4 separate regions of the Homo sapiens genome follow, and regions 1, 3 and 4 are each linked to region 2. The links are contacts of gene promoters, found by promoter capture Hi-C in human tissues and cell types (Jung and others, 2019). All regions are on one chromosome and are shown on one strand. Each heading gives the region's core, a stretch centred on a gene start or on the middle of the fragment in contact. The rest is flanking DNA. Distances are from core to core; before and after follow the strand shown.

Region 1 (3,171 bases), core at 513-3,012, 180 kb before region 2:
GGAGGCCTCAGGAAACTTACAGTCATGGCGGAAGTAGAAGGAGAAGCAAGAACCTTCTTCATAAGCAGCAGGTTATGCTGCTTGCCCTCCTTTAGGGAGATATTCTCCTTTAGGGAAATATTTCTCATCCAGACTATGGACCAGATGACTATGGACCAGATGAAATCTCATTGCTCTACTTTTAGCGACCCTACTTTTAGACACATGGGAATGGCCAGTCAGTCATGTTATTGTAAAGCAAAGAGAAGTCATTTCATTTTAGTTTAATTTTATTTATTTATTTATTTTGCTAATTGGGGAAGTATAAATCTAGGACTGCTGTTGACTTCCTGTTCATAGCTGGAAAGAATGTGGCTAAAACAAAGAGAAGCAGAGACGACTGCAATTGTGCCCAGTTCTAGTTCTGTCCCTATCTTCAGTGAGCCATCTCAACATCTGTAATGGATGATATTATTGTTCACAATTATCTCTTGTCCTCTCTGTAAGAGGACCTATATCCCTCCTATGGTCATGTCACTGGCAGCACCTCCCTGTGGAAGGAGATACTTCTCTCACCCTTTGACAGACAGCATGCGTGGCCATATGGTTTGCTTTAATTGATAGAATATGGGCAGAAGGAATATATGATACGCCCAAGTAGAGACCATAAGATCCATCAGCTTGTTCTATGATTATTTTTTTCCTCTTCCACAAGTCTGAGATAGGGGCTGCTCCTTCAAACTGTGCCCCAGAATGAGAAGATATGTGGAGGAGAGCTAAAGCCAAAATGTAACATGAACAATAAACAAAGCTTTGTTATTGTAAAACAAAAACTCTTTCTGAAAAATTCCTTTCTCTCTGTCTTTCTCTCACTCTCTCTCTCTCTCTCTCTGTGTGTCTGCCAGAAGAAGGTTCCACTAGGTTTCTAGCCTTATAACTGAAAGCATTCTAATTATCCTGTGACTAATAGATATTCTTTAGTCCATGACTAATAAATACAACTTGACAACACATTTACAAAGCATATTACCAAGGTCAACATGTGTAAACAAGTATACATTGAACTAGGCTATCCCAGAAGAGGTTGTTTTAATGGCTAATAACAAATTATATTCAATATTAAACATACGTTCAGAGATGCTAAACAAGTTTTCATAGTCACACTAGTTTGTTCCTTCTAATGCTCATATTTAAATTATTTGCTAGTGTTTTTCCTAAGCCTCCTATAGTCAAATACAATAATTATTATTTCAACTTCTTTAAATGTTTCCTTTAATGTATTTTTACTACAAATGTTTCTTTCTACAATTTAATAAAATTTAGTTCATTGCTCAGAGTTGTTAAATTTACTTTGGACATGCAGTATTATTTGTTTTGTTTTATGTTAAAATTGAAGCACAGTAACATTTTTCATATGTTTAGATACATAGTGAAATGATGAAAAGTCTGTATTTCCGTTAGCTAATATGTTGCAGTCTACTAGTGCATATCCATGTCTGATTTTCCTCACCTTCCTGTAAACACAAGAAGACCACTCTTCCCAACAACCTTGCAGTTAGAACTAAATGACTACCTCTGGTTCAGCGGTTTTCAACCAAAAGCAATTTTTCCATTCACTGCTGCCCTCACCCCAACCTCTAGAGATATCTTTGGTTATCACAGCCAGAGGGGACACCTCTGGTATCTGGTGTATAGACACCAGGGATGCTGGCATGCATCCTGCAGTGCAAGGAGAGTCCCCCAAAACAAATTATTCACCCCAGCCATAGTTGAGAAACCTGGTTCTAGGCAGTGAAAACTAAGTAGAAGAAATTCAGGTCAGCTCCAGGCTGAGACATTCAAGAACCTATCTTCTCTATAACAGGCAACTGTAGAAACCATGTGTTGAAATGGAAATACCACAAGAAGCAAGTGACCTCACCTCTCATCACAGAGAAAGAGGTCATCACACAGAGAGAGGAGCTACTCTGAAAAGCTCCCTGAGCCTTAACAGAATTTATATGATCATTACATAAATCTGCTTTTGTCTTTAACCTTCATTGTATGTCTTAAACCAGATTCCAGGGCTAATTTTTCATAGAAGCCTAACCTATTCTATCCTTACTAATATAGTTAGTTTTATAAATTTTCACTTATATGCAATAAATATAGTACTTTTTTTAAATGCCAGATGTATTACTCCATTTTCACACTGCTGATAAAGACATACCTAAGACTGGGCAATTTACAAAAGAAAGAGGATTATTGGACTTACAGTTCCACATGGCTGGGAAGGCTTCACAATCAAGGCGGAAGGCAAGGAGGAGCAAGTCACATCTTACATGGATGGCAGTTGGCAATAAAAGAGCTTGTGCAGGGCAACTCCACTTTTAAAACAAGCAGATCTCATAAGACCCATTCACTATCATGAGAACAGCATGAGAAAGATCTGTCCCCATAATTCAATCATCTCCCACCAGGTTCCTCCCACAAAAGGTGGGAATTATGGGAGCTACAAGATGAGATTTTGGTGGGGACACAGAGCCAAACCATATCACCAGGTAATATCATATACATAGCATCAAATAGCTTTTAAATATAACTTACTTCTTAGGCAAATTTCTTTTACTATTCCGGTTATTAATATATGCTGAAGATAGAGATGACATTATTCAAGCAAAAGCAGGATTTGAAGAATGTATTTTAAAGACCAGTTGGCAATACACTCAATAAATCCTCAGAATGTAGAACATAATTATATGTGTGTCAGAAGAGGGGATCACCCGGGTCTGAAAATGACACTGAGAAACTATAACTTCCAAGGGGGGTAGAATGTTTTTCCCCAAAAGTTATAAGAATGTGAAATAAGAGGTTTAAAAATGATTTTTTTTCCTCAACAGAGTGAAAAACAGAGTTGATCCCATGCTTCATTTCACAGCTGCCTAGCTACAGTGAGTGATATATGTTTCTAACACAATGGATGGTGGCTTAGGAAGAGGATCCAATAAAATCTATGTTGGAGCCAAGAATAAAATCCAAGGAAAATGCCTCTAGTTAATCGTTCTAATCAATTCCCCCTGTGCGCCAGAGAAGGGCTCACATTTAAACCCAGTATTATTATAGGTATTTAGATTAGTCAAGAGCAGTGCTATAAGGACGAGAATCCCAAAATTTTAATTTAAAGCCATGGGTTTCCTAATTTAAAAATATTTT
Region 2 (3,492 bases), core at 198-2,697:
AATAATAGTAACAGCCTCTTTGGCTTTTGTAGGAAGTAAATGACATGAAGCGTATAAACAAATACTGCATGACAATAAATATTTGTCCTTATTTGTTGAGGACATCCAAAGGACATTCAGGGGCAAAAGTAATCCAAGAGTCAAGACTGAATGCCTAGTGCGGGAAAAGACACACAAGACAACATTTAGGGGAGCTGGTACAGAAATGACTTCCCAGGAAGGAAGTCTGTACCCCGCTGGCTGAGCCATCCTTCCCGGGCCTAGGCACCCTTGTCAGCGCAATGAGCAAGGGAGAGAAGGCAGGCTGCAGTGCAGCCCTCAGAAGGGCCAGAGCACTCCCTGGCTTCAGTCCTTCGCTCCAAGCCCTGTGTGGAGTGGGCTGTGGCTTGGTAACTAAATGCTACTTCAGGTCAAGAGCAGGGGATATATCTGGGCAGTTCTAGAGCATTCTAAACTATCTGGACACTAACTGGACAGTGGACGGTTTGTGTTTAATCCAGGAGAAAGTGGCATGGCAGAAGGTTCATTTCTATAATTCAGGACAGACACAATGAAGAACAAGGGCAGCGTTTGAGGTCAGAAGTCCTCATTTACGGGGGTCGAATACGAATGATCTCTCCTAATTTTTCCTTCTTCCCCAACTCAGATGGATGTTACATCCCTGCTTAACAACAAAAAAAGACCCCCCGCCCCGCAAAATCCACACTGACCACCCCCTTTAACAAAACAAAACCAAAAACAAACAAAAATATAAGAAAGAAACAAAACCCAAGCCCAGAACCCTGCTTTCAAGAAGAAGTAAATGGGTTGGCCGCTTCTTTGCCAGGTCCTGCGCCTTGCTCCTTTGGTTCGTTCTAAAGATAGAAATTCCAGGTTGCTCGTGCCTGCTTTTGACGTTGGGGGTTAAAAAATGAGGTTTTGCTGTCTCAACAAGCAAAGAAAATCCTATTTCCTTTAAGCTTCACTCGTTCTCATTCTCTTCCAGAAACGCCTGCCCCACCTCTCCAAACCGAGAGAAAAAACGAAATGCGGATAAAAACGCACCCTAGCAGCAGTCCTTTATACGACACCCCCGGGAGGCCTGCGGGGTCGGATGATTCAAGCTCACGGGGACGAGCAGGAGCGCTCTCGACTTTTCTAGAGCCTCAGCGTCCTAGGACTCACCTTTCCCTGATCCTGCACCGTCCCTCTCCTGGCCCCAGACTCTCCCTCCCACTGTTCACGAAGCCCAGGTGGGCCGTCGGCCGGGGAGCGGAGGGGGCGCGTGGGGTGCAGGCGGCGCCAAGGGCGCGTGCACCTGTGGGCGCGGGGCGCGAGGGCCCCTCCCGGCGCGAGCGGGCGCAGTTCCCCGGCGGCGCCGCTAGGGGTCTCTCTCGGGTGCCGAGCGGGGTGGGCCGGATCAGCTGACTCGCCTGGCTCTGAGCCCCGCCGCCGCGCTCGGGCTCCGTCAGTTTCCTCGGCAGCGGTAGGCGAGAGCACGCGGAGGAGCGTGCGCGGGGGCCCCGGGAGACGGCGGCGGTGGCGGCGCGGGCAGAGCAAGGACGCGGCGGATCCCACTCGCACAGCAGCGCACTCGGTGCCCCGCGCAGGGTCGCGATGCTGCCCGGTTTGGCACTGCTCCTGCTGGCCGCCTGGACGGCTCGGGCGCTGGAGGTGGGTGCCGCGCCTCGGAAGGCGGGGGGAGGCTGCACGGTGGGGACGCGATACCCCCCAAGACCTTAACCCAAGTCTTTAATGCAGAGAAGCCGGGGGTCCGTCAATGGGACCCCTCTCCTCTCCGCCCCCGCTTGCGGACGTCCAGCGCATCCCCGCTTTCGGCCCAGCCCTGCCCCAGGGAGTCGCGCTCCGGCCCGCTGAGAGGGAGCGGGCGAGGCGCTGGTCTCCCTGGTTCCGCGCCAGCCCGGGGCGAGAAGGGTAGGGGGCGACCCTGAGCCCAGACCCCGACTTAGTCCCTGCCTTGGAAGCGGGGGTCGGGGGAGGCGAGAGACATTCAGACAGGGGGGAAGGGGGAAGGAGCACGTGGGGAAAACCGAAAACGCAGCGTCCCTAAAGCCAGTCCTTCGCTCTTGAATCGTTGCCCTTTCCTTTCTCTTGGGCCCTGGGGAGGAGGAGGAGGAGTCGGGACAGCCCAGGAAGCTAGGAGCCCCTCGCTTTTCCCTGCGTTCTCCGCCTCGTTTCACCTTCCTCTCTCACCCCCATCCCCCTTCCTTGCTCCAACCTCTTTTCGCGGCTGCTGGCGGCGGCAGCCTGGGTGCGACCCTAGCCCGAGCCGGCGTCGGGGTCGCGCACCGCCTTCCACAGGCAAACTTTGTGCATGTCCGCGTCTCCCTTTTGTGTAACTTGCGAGAAATGGGAGGGGTCGGAGACCCATAGCCACCCCGCGCCTTCCCCAAGTCTGGACGTCCCGGGAGTTCGCTCGCACCCTAAGCTCTGTCTGAGAGGCAGAAGGTCCGCGGGAACAAAAGCCGCGACACCCCGCCCTCGCCGTGGGCCGAGCCGCGTTAGTCTCAGTGCGCCACCGAGGCTCCCGCCCGGCTCCCTTCCCGGGGCTGCGCGTCCGCCTGGGAGGGGGCAGAGACGCTGCCGGGGCTTCTGGCGGAGCCTCGGGGCCCCTCTGCTTCCCACCCTCGGATCACCTCCGAGGCTTAATTCTGTGCTGGGCTGTAAAGTCCTTGGCGGGGAGGAAATAAGGCGGAGAGTGGGATGTGCGTCTGGAAAGGGCAGTGGCGGATGGTGGGGAGGCACGGGCTCTGTCCTGTGCATCCAAGGAGGCGTTTGTCTGATTAAGGCGCGGCCTCTTCCCTGGCAGCTCTGGGGACTCTGGTTTAGTTCCCCTGGGGGCACAGGATGCTGGGGAGGGTCCGAAGGGTCTTTTTTTTAGGGTGCAGATAAAAGGATCGAATTGAGTGAAGATTAAGACGGAGAAGATGGCGCCTCTGCAGTGCAGCAAAGAAAAGCTGTGTGGAGGCTGCAGCCTAGTGAAATCCACCCACCACTAGGTGTATAACAAGTCTTCCCCATTCATCCAACTCTCGAACATTCAGCTAACGCCTGTGCACAATGACTGTTTTTCTTTACATCTGAAGATGCTTAGAAGTTGTTTGCATGACAGTTGGGCCAGAGGAGGCTGTATTTCACTTCGGACTTCGGTTGGGTTCCTGTTTGGCATCTTAACATTTGCAACCTTCCTTACCCGTTTTTCCCCTCTTTTCCCCCAGCCTCCTAGTAATTTTCCAAAAGAAAAAAAGCAATTTCCGGGCAGATGTTTTCCTGTAATTCCACTGAGGCTGTACAGACTATCACACCATTAGTTTTTTAGTTTCTAATTTGCAAGGTCATTGAACTTTTTTCTCTTCTGATTTTTACCCACAAGTGGCTCAGGAATCACCTTAGGGCTAGTTAAGACAGGTTGTTTTAAGAGTTAAAGAATTTCGTTTTCCATGTTTTAAAAAAATGCACTTAACTAAGAGAATTCTGATTTCTCTCATGACT
Region 3 (3,570 bases), core at 780-3,279, 210 kb before region 2:
AACTTAACTGGTAAATGTTGTGTGTGTTCTGACTCCTTCACCAACCAGTCATTCCTCAATCTCTCATCCTCTCCTCAGGCCTCCCTCTTCTCTGACACATAGCAATACTGAAATTAGGCCAGTTAATAACCCTACAATGGCCTCTATATGTTCAAGTGAAAGAAAGAGTCACATGTCTCTCACTTAAAATCAAAAGTTAGACATGATTAAGCTTAGTGAGAAAGTCATGTGGAAAACAGAGATAGGCTAAAAGCTTGGCCTCTTGCATCAAACAGCCAAGTTGTGAATGCAAAGGAAAAGCTCTTGAAGGAAATTAAAAGTGCTACTCTGGTGAACACATGAATGATTAAAAAAAAGTGAAGTAGCATATTATTGATATGTAGAAAGTCTGAGTGGTATGGATAGAAGCTCAAACCACCACAACAGTCCCATAAATCAAAGCCTAATCCAGTTGAAAGCTCTCAGCAGCAAGATTCGACCCTCTTTGAGCAAAAAAAAATTCCAACTCACTGAAGGCCCAGATAATTGTTAGCACTGTTTACCAATAAAGTATTTTTTAATTGAGGTATGCTTTTTTTTTTTTTTTTTTTTTGAGACAGAGTCTCACTCTGTCACCCAGGCTGGAGTGCAGTAGTACAATCTTGGCTTACTGCAACCTTTACTCCCAGGTTCAAGTGATTCTCCTGCTTCAGCCTTCCAAGTACCTGGGGTAAATTACAGGTGCACACCACCATGCTCAGCTAATTTTTTTTTGCATTTTTAGTAGAGATGGGGTTTCGCCATGTTGGCGAGGCTAGTCTCAAACTCCTGACCTTAGGTGATCCACCCACCTTGGCCTCCCAAAGTGCTGGGATTACAGGCATGAGCCACCATGCCCAGCTGAGTATGCATATTTTTTAGACATAATGCTATTGCACACTTAATAGACAATAGCATAGTGTAAACACAACTTTTATTTGCATTGGGAGACCAAAAAATTTCCACGACTTGCTTCATTGCAACACCCGCTTTATTGTGGTGGGCTGGAAATGAATTTGCAGTATCTCTGAGTTAGGCTTGTATGGAAAAACCAGGGGCATGAATTAGAATGAAGTGGCAATGGTAGGCTCCCCAACCCACCAAGGAGATATCAGAGTTAGCGCTGCAGCCCACATCCTACCTAAACCCCCGTTGGGTCACATAGGAAGGGCAATTACTGATAGGGTTACAAAAGGAGGCTCTTGTCAAGCACATCAGTGTCCATTTGCCTCTGGGTGCTGGAACATCAAGAATGGCAACCCGAAGAATATTTCCAGATCCCCTGGCCTACTGACTGGCAGACAACCAAAAGATACTTATGATAAGTTAGTTAGAAAGCAGAATGAATGCCACGGATGAAACAGAAATAATACAAAGTCTCAGGACTTACTGATTTTTGTGTATTATGAGTAAATCAGGTCAATCTTAGAGTATGCTTCACTCTAGCAAGATCAAGTGTTCAAATGCAAATTGGCTTTCAATGAAACTAAAATGGGCTCAAAATAGATCAGATTAAAAACCATTTTTTCACTAAAAAATTGGATGATAAAACCAAAGGCCATGCCAGTGCTGCTCACTGCTTTCCGATGAATGAACCATCAATTTATTCATCTGATAAATATTTGTTGAACAAATAACATGTGATAAGCACTGTTCTAGGCACTGATGAACCAGACACAAGAGCTATCCTAATGGGGCGAGGGTCATGGAACGTGAGCAAGAAAAATGCAAAATAATTCCAGAGAACGACTGTCACAGGGAGATAATAAAGTGGGTTCCTGTGATAGAGAATGACTGTGGAGGGGAAGTGGGGTACTTCTTTCAGCAAAGTGGTCAGGAAAGGTCTTTTGGAGAAGGGGTAGTGTTTGACTGAGACCTGAGTGGTGGAAAGAGGGTAGCAGGGGAACAGAGACCAAGCAGAGGAGCAAGCTGGATCTGCTGTTAGGGATCAAGCACTATATATGCTTGATGAACTGGTTGTAGGCCCAAGATATCTCAGTCTTTATGATTTAATTTGCCCTAAAGGCTTCATGTTCACCTAAGAGACAGAGATAATGACCTGGAGAAAAAGAGAACCACTGAGGAGGACTATACCGTGTCTGTTATCCAGCCTGGGTGCAGAGACCACTCCTGCAAGAAATGAATGGAGCTGCAACAGGCCAAAGATGGAGGAAGGCACTGTTTTCACAAGGGGCCCCTGAGACTAAGGTCCAGGGGACAAAGCACATTTCCAAGCAGAGGAGGGGTCTACCCCCATTTCTTTAAGAAGCCCAGTGTGATTCAGGCTCATTGTGCACAAAAGGAGGAAACAACACTATTTTTACACCTTGAAAGCTTCAGAAAGTGCAGATATCAGCATATTTATAGAGAACTGCACCATTGAGATGGTGCAAAGTGTAACTCTCAGGGGCCCTGGGAAGGAAGAGACTCCCTGAATGAGCCTGGGTGGAGGAGCAGAAGAAGACTTTTCACAAGCACATATAAGACATTCCATTTCCTAGGTGTATTTTGTGTCTACATGCAACATGGATGAGTCAGAAAAGTGTGAGATGTGTCACCATATTCCCAGGCATAAAATCCCCTAGAATGTCACCCTCTTCTCCTAATCTTCCCTTCACCTTTTTGTTCCCCCGAGGATATGGTTTTCTTTGCTTCCCTCTTTAGCGATGGCTATTTTCCCTCCTAGGTCTGGAGGTGGAGTAGGTGGCCTTGTTGCTCTTTATTGCCCCTTTCAGAGAATTCTCCCTCCCTCTTCCCTATACCCTCCCCAACCTTAAGGCTCATATCATTGCTGTTATAAACTGAATCATGTCCCCCACCCTCAAATTCATATGCTGAAGTCCTAACTCCCAGTACCATAGAATGTGATTTGGATATGGGATATTTAAAGAGGTGGTTAAGGTTAAATGAGATGATTAGAGTGGGCCTTACTCCAATATTACTCATGTCCTTATAAGAAGAGGAGATTAGGACACAAACATACACAGAGGAAAGATCCTGGGAAGAAAAGGGGAGAAGACAGCCATCTACAAGTCAAGGAGAAAGGTCCCAGAAGGAACCAACCCTGCCAACACCTAGATCTTGGACTTCTAGACTCCAGAACTGTGAGAAAATAAATGTCTGTTGTTTAAGCCACCTAGCCTGTGGTATTTGTTAAGGCAGCCCCAGCAGACTAATACAATCAGACAGCAATCCTTCCTTGTTGCTGTTGTCTGCAGCCCTCTTTGAAGATCTTATTTTTTGATTGAGTCCTGTTGCTGTCTCCTACATGACCTCTGTCATTAATCCTTGGTGATTGATTTCTATGTGTGTAAGCTTTCCAACACCTTGGCCTCTCAGTTCCTGGTTCATCATTCTGGCCCAGCCATCCACTCCCATGGTCATAGCACCAAGCAAACTCTCCAACTCATGTCCATGAGGTGTTGAGCTCTTTGGCCCCTCACAGATGCTGAGCAGGATGGGAGCACCTAAAGCCCCCAGCCAGATATGCTATATAAATATTTTCACTTTCTATATGCACCACAATAGAAAAAAAAATACTAGAAGGCACTG
Region 4 (3,470 bases), core at 66-2,565, 230 kb before region 2:
CCCACGCCAGATTCGCTTTCCAACCTTCGCTATCCTCCTTTGAAATCCAAGACTTCAACTTCTAGGGACTGCACCAACAAGCTTCCTTGCCCTCCAGCTTTCAGTTTGGCCAATGGAAGATACTTGCCAGGAAATTGAAAGTTTAGTGCAGAATGATGTAAGCACTTTTATTCCAACAGCAACCTTCCTGGCAAGTCATCACAAGCTGGCTCTGGCCTTCCACCCAAGGACACTCTTCTTATTGGATGGCCCTCTTAATGCAGCCACTCTATGTTCCAGTCACTAACTGCTTCCTCCCCCTGCCCCTCAGCACTCCAGCTTTTGCTGACTCCAAAGTACTGCACTATTCTTTGATGTAATACTGCACTTAACCCCACCCACATGATTGTAAACAATCCCTTTGTTGAACTCTCTTCTCTGATCCTTTTTGAGCATTTTGTTTTCTGCTTGGTCACTGGGGAAAACAATAAGACACCCTAAGTTGGCTAACATCAGAATTGAAAACATTTCTTACTTGAAAAAAACGTAATGTGGTAAAAAATATTTAAGTAATTCTTATGGTATCGGATTACTTAGTGATATGGTTTGGCTCTGTATCCCCACCCAAATCTCATCTCGAACTGTAATCCCCACGTATTGTGGGAAGGACTTAGTGGGAGGTGATTGGATCATGGGGACAGTTTCTCCATGCTGTTCTCATAATAGTGAAGGAGTTCGCAGGAGATCTGATGGTTTTAAAGTGTGGCACTTTCCCTTCTTTCTCTCTCCTGCCACCTTGTGAAGATGTGCCTTGCTTCCCTTCACCTTCCTCCGTAATTGCAAGTTTCCTGAAGCCTCCTCAGCCATGTGGAACTGGGAGTCAATTAAACTTCTTTTGTTTAAAAATTACCCAGTGTCAGGTAGTATCTGTATAGCAATGTGAGAATGGACGAATACACTTAGTAACTCCTATATGCATTGCCCATTGATTCTTCAGTTATATTGTCATTCAATCATTGCTTTATTTATTCCACAACCAGTTACTGATCACCTACTAAGACTGATGCTCTGCAAGCTACAGTAACCACATAAGGTACATGACTATTGTGTCATGTACTACATCATACATTTCTTCCTATGGACAGCTTCCAACTTACCTTTGAACAATAATTGTAGGCAAATGAAGATGCTGAAGAATGGAGGGAAAACATTCTGACCTCTGACAGGGACTGAAGTGAGAAAACCCATGAATTATAAGGAAATGAAAAGTGACTTAAAAGACTAGTTTTCTTACACTAAGCAACTGAAGTCCCACTCTGGAGAGGGCTCAGTGAAGAGGGTGATCAGTCCTTTGTACAGAAATGTCTATACCCTAGAAGATGCCTGGTAGCTAAGTAGATATTCTTGAATCTGTGCTAAAAATTGGAGTGAAAGAGTCCCAAAAGCTTTGAAAACAATTTTCCAGGCTGTCCTAGCTAAGGGGCATGTCATTCAACAGTGACTAGTCAATTTAGTGAAAGTCAGTCACACACAGTTTGATATTCTCAAGACTAAAAAAACCAACTGCGTGACTGAATTTTTTATTTTTCAAGGTAGTCGTTATTGAAGGAACCTGAATTTTTCATATGATTGTTTTTAGAATAACACTGATGTTGAAATTTTGCATTATTCTTTCTGCTGCAGACATCTTGAAACAGAAAAATAAACACTGCAGAGTAGAAAAGTCTTCAGGGCAAAAGTCTGGCTTAGGGTACCTCCTAAAAAATATCTATAAGTGGCCAGGTGCAGTGGCTCACGCCTGTAATCCCAGCAGTTTGGGAGACCAAGGCAGGTGGATCACGAGGTCAAGAGACTGAGACCATCCTGGCCAATATGGTGAAACCCCATCTCCAGGAAAAATACAAAAATTAGCTGGCTGTGATGGCACGCACTTCTAATCCCAACTATTCAGGAGGCTGAGGCAGGGGAATCGCTTGAACCCAGGAGGTGGAGTTTGCAGTGAGCCCAGATCGTGCCGTTGCAGTCCAGCCCGGGAGACAGAGTGAGACTCTGTCTCAAAAAAAAAAAAAAAAAAAAAAAAAAAAAAAAAATATATATATATATATATATATATATATATATACACACACACACGTATATATATATATACACATATGTATATATATATACATATATATACACATATATATACACATATATAAGCTTTATCTCACTATATTGCTATATTTCTGAATCATAACTAAATGCTTTTTCAAAAAAAATGTATTCTTTAAATGAAAGGAGTTGAAAAAATGTTGATATAATCAAGGAAAGCTATTGAGTTTAAGATAAGCAGAGAGCGTGGCCTTCATCCTTAATCCCCACCACCTGATCCAGTTCCTGGTGGTTTCATAAAGTTTGTTGAATGACTTTTTTAAAAAAGCAGAAGTTATTTGTAGATGGCAATAATCCCATCTAAGAGTCTGAAGAGACATTTGACAGAGCCATGGAGCAGTATAGCAAATACTTAGGAAATGGTAGGTCCACATAATGTAAATTTACTTGAAGTCATATTAGGTGGAGATCTGTAAGCTTATTTTGAAATATAAAGATTTGATTATATTTTTGTGAAATACAGTCTTATTTCTATCATATGCTCATCTTCATCATACCTGCCATTTGCATTTTGACATCATGATGGGGAACAGGAAGCGGTAATCGGCCTCAGGCACAAATTTACCTCCAGGTGAAGTGAGAGGGATGACCATTTGCTTGGCTCACTTGGTTACACTTAGGGAATAGGGATTTGGGAGAGTTTGGGAACCACAGAGCCATTCTTTCTGAGGACTCTTCCCTGGTGCTGCCAGATTTCAGGGTTTGAGGTTCACAACACAAGACGCTTGTGATCTTCTCTCTCCTTCCCATTCTGACATTCCAGTATGGGGCACTGTTTGTTGGCTGGTCTCTGTTAAATACAAGGATTCCTCCATAGGGTAAGAAATTTGAGGGTGAAGTAGATTCCCTGTCCCAGGCTTCTGAGTACCTTGGGAGCTGGACTGTATGCCATTTAGCATCATATTCCAAAGCCAAGGTCAGTGCTTGGTTGATGGAAGACACGTAAACACTGGTAAACACATGTAAACACTGGCTGTAAACATCTGTGGAGTGAATCAGTGCATTTTGAGATTTGGCAGAGTAACGTCCACTGCACCTTTCCAAGGGGAAAGGTTTCAAAACCATAAACAACTTCATTCGGCAAGTTAGGAAACAGATCTAATTTGTGCACAATTTGACATGAGGTAACTTTTTGGAAGGTATACATGATAAGCATAATGTATTCAACTTCCTAGAAAAATCAATGGCTTCCACTTATATTCAAACCAGGAAATTTGGTTCTTTATGTATAATCGTTAATGGTCAACTATGGCCGAGATCAATTTAGTCCATATACTTTGATATGGAAAGACTATTATGTCTTTATTTCTTTAAATCAACTTAGTTCAACTTTGTGA

The links. Contacts are between HindIII fragments. The study calls those that stand out against the background at their distance.
Region 1: a contact is called between a fragment that was not itself captured here and the fragment with the promoter of APP in region 2, in 2 of the 25 tissues and cell types used here (hippocampus and lymphoblastoid cells).
Region 3: a fragment that was not itself captured here is called in contact with the fragment with the promoter of APP in region 2 in 2 of the 25 tissues and cell types used here (mesenchymal stem cells and mesendoderm cells).
Region 4: a fragment that was not itself captured here is called in contact with the fragment with the promoter of APP in region 2 in 2 of the 25 tissues and cell types used here (dorsolateral prefrontal cortex and heart left ventricle).

Annotation. Positions count from the first base shown.
Region 1 is chr21:26,349,615-26,352,785 of GRCh38, reverse strand. No RefSeq gene overlaps it. Among named protein-coding and RNA genes, the nearest start is that of CYYR1-AS1, 55 kb to the left of the region's middle. The HindIII fragment of the contact is 5,857 bases long and covers 1-3,171 here.
Region 2 is chr21:26,168,725-26,172,216 of GRCh38, reverse strand. APP (amyloid beta precursor protein) reads left to right here and starts at 1,447. Exons shown (of 18, transcript NM_000484.4): 1 at 1,447-1,653. The coding sequence starts at 1,597. APP-DT (APP divergent transcript) reads right to left here and starts at 1,350. Exons shown (of 4, transcript NR_186396.1): 1 at 1,165-1,350. RefSeq lists silencers at 1,095-1,924, 2,425-2,694 and enhancers at 1,712-2,236, 2,735-2,944. The HindIII fragment of the contact is 4,835 bases long and covers 1-3,492 here.
Region 3 is chr21:26,376,294-26,379,863 of GRCh38, reverse strand. No RefSeq gene overlaps it. Among named protein-coding and RNA genes, the nearest start is that of CYYR1-AS1, 28 kb to the left of the region's middle. The HindIII fragment of the contact is 3,594 bases long and covers 233-3,570 here.
Region 4 is chr21:26,394,577-26,398,046 of GRCh38, reverse strand. It overlaps a transcript of CYYR1-AS1 not described here. Among named protein-coding and RNA genes, the nearest start is that of CYYR1-AS1, 9.6 kb to the left of the region's middle. The HindIII fragment of the contact is 3,858 bases long and covers 1-3,244 here.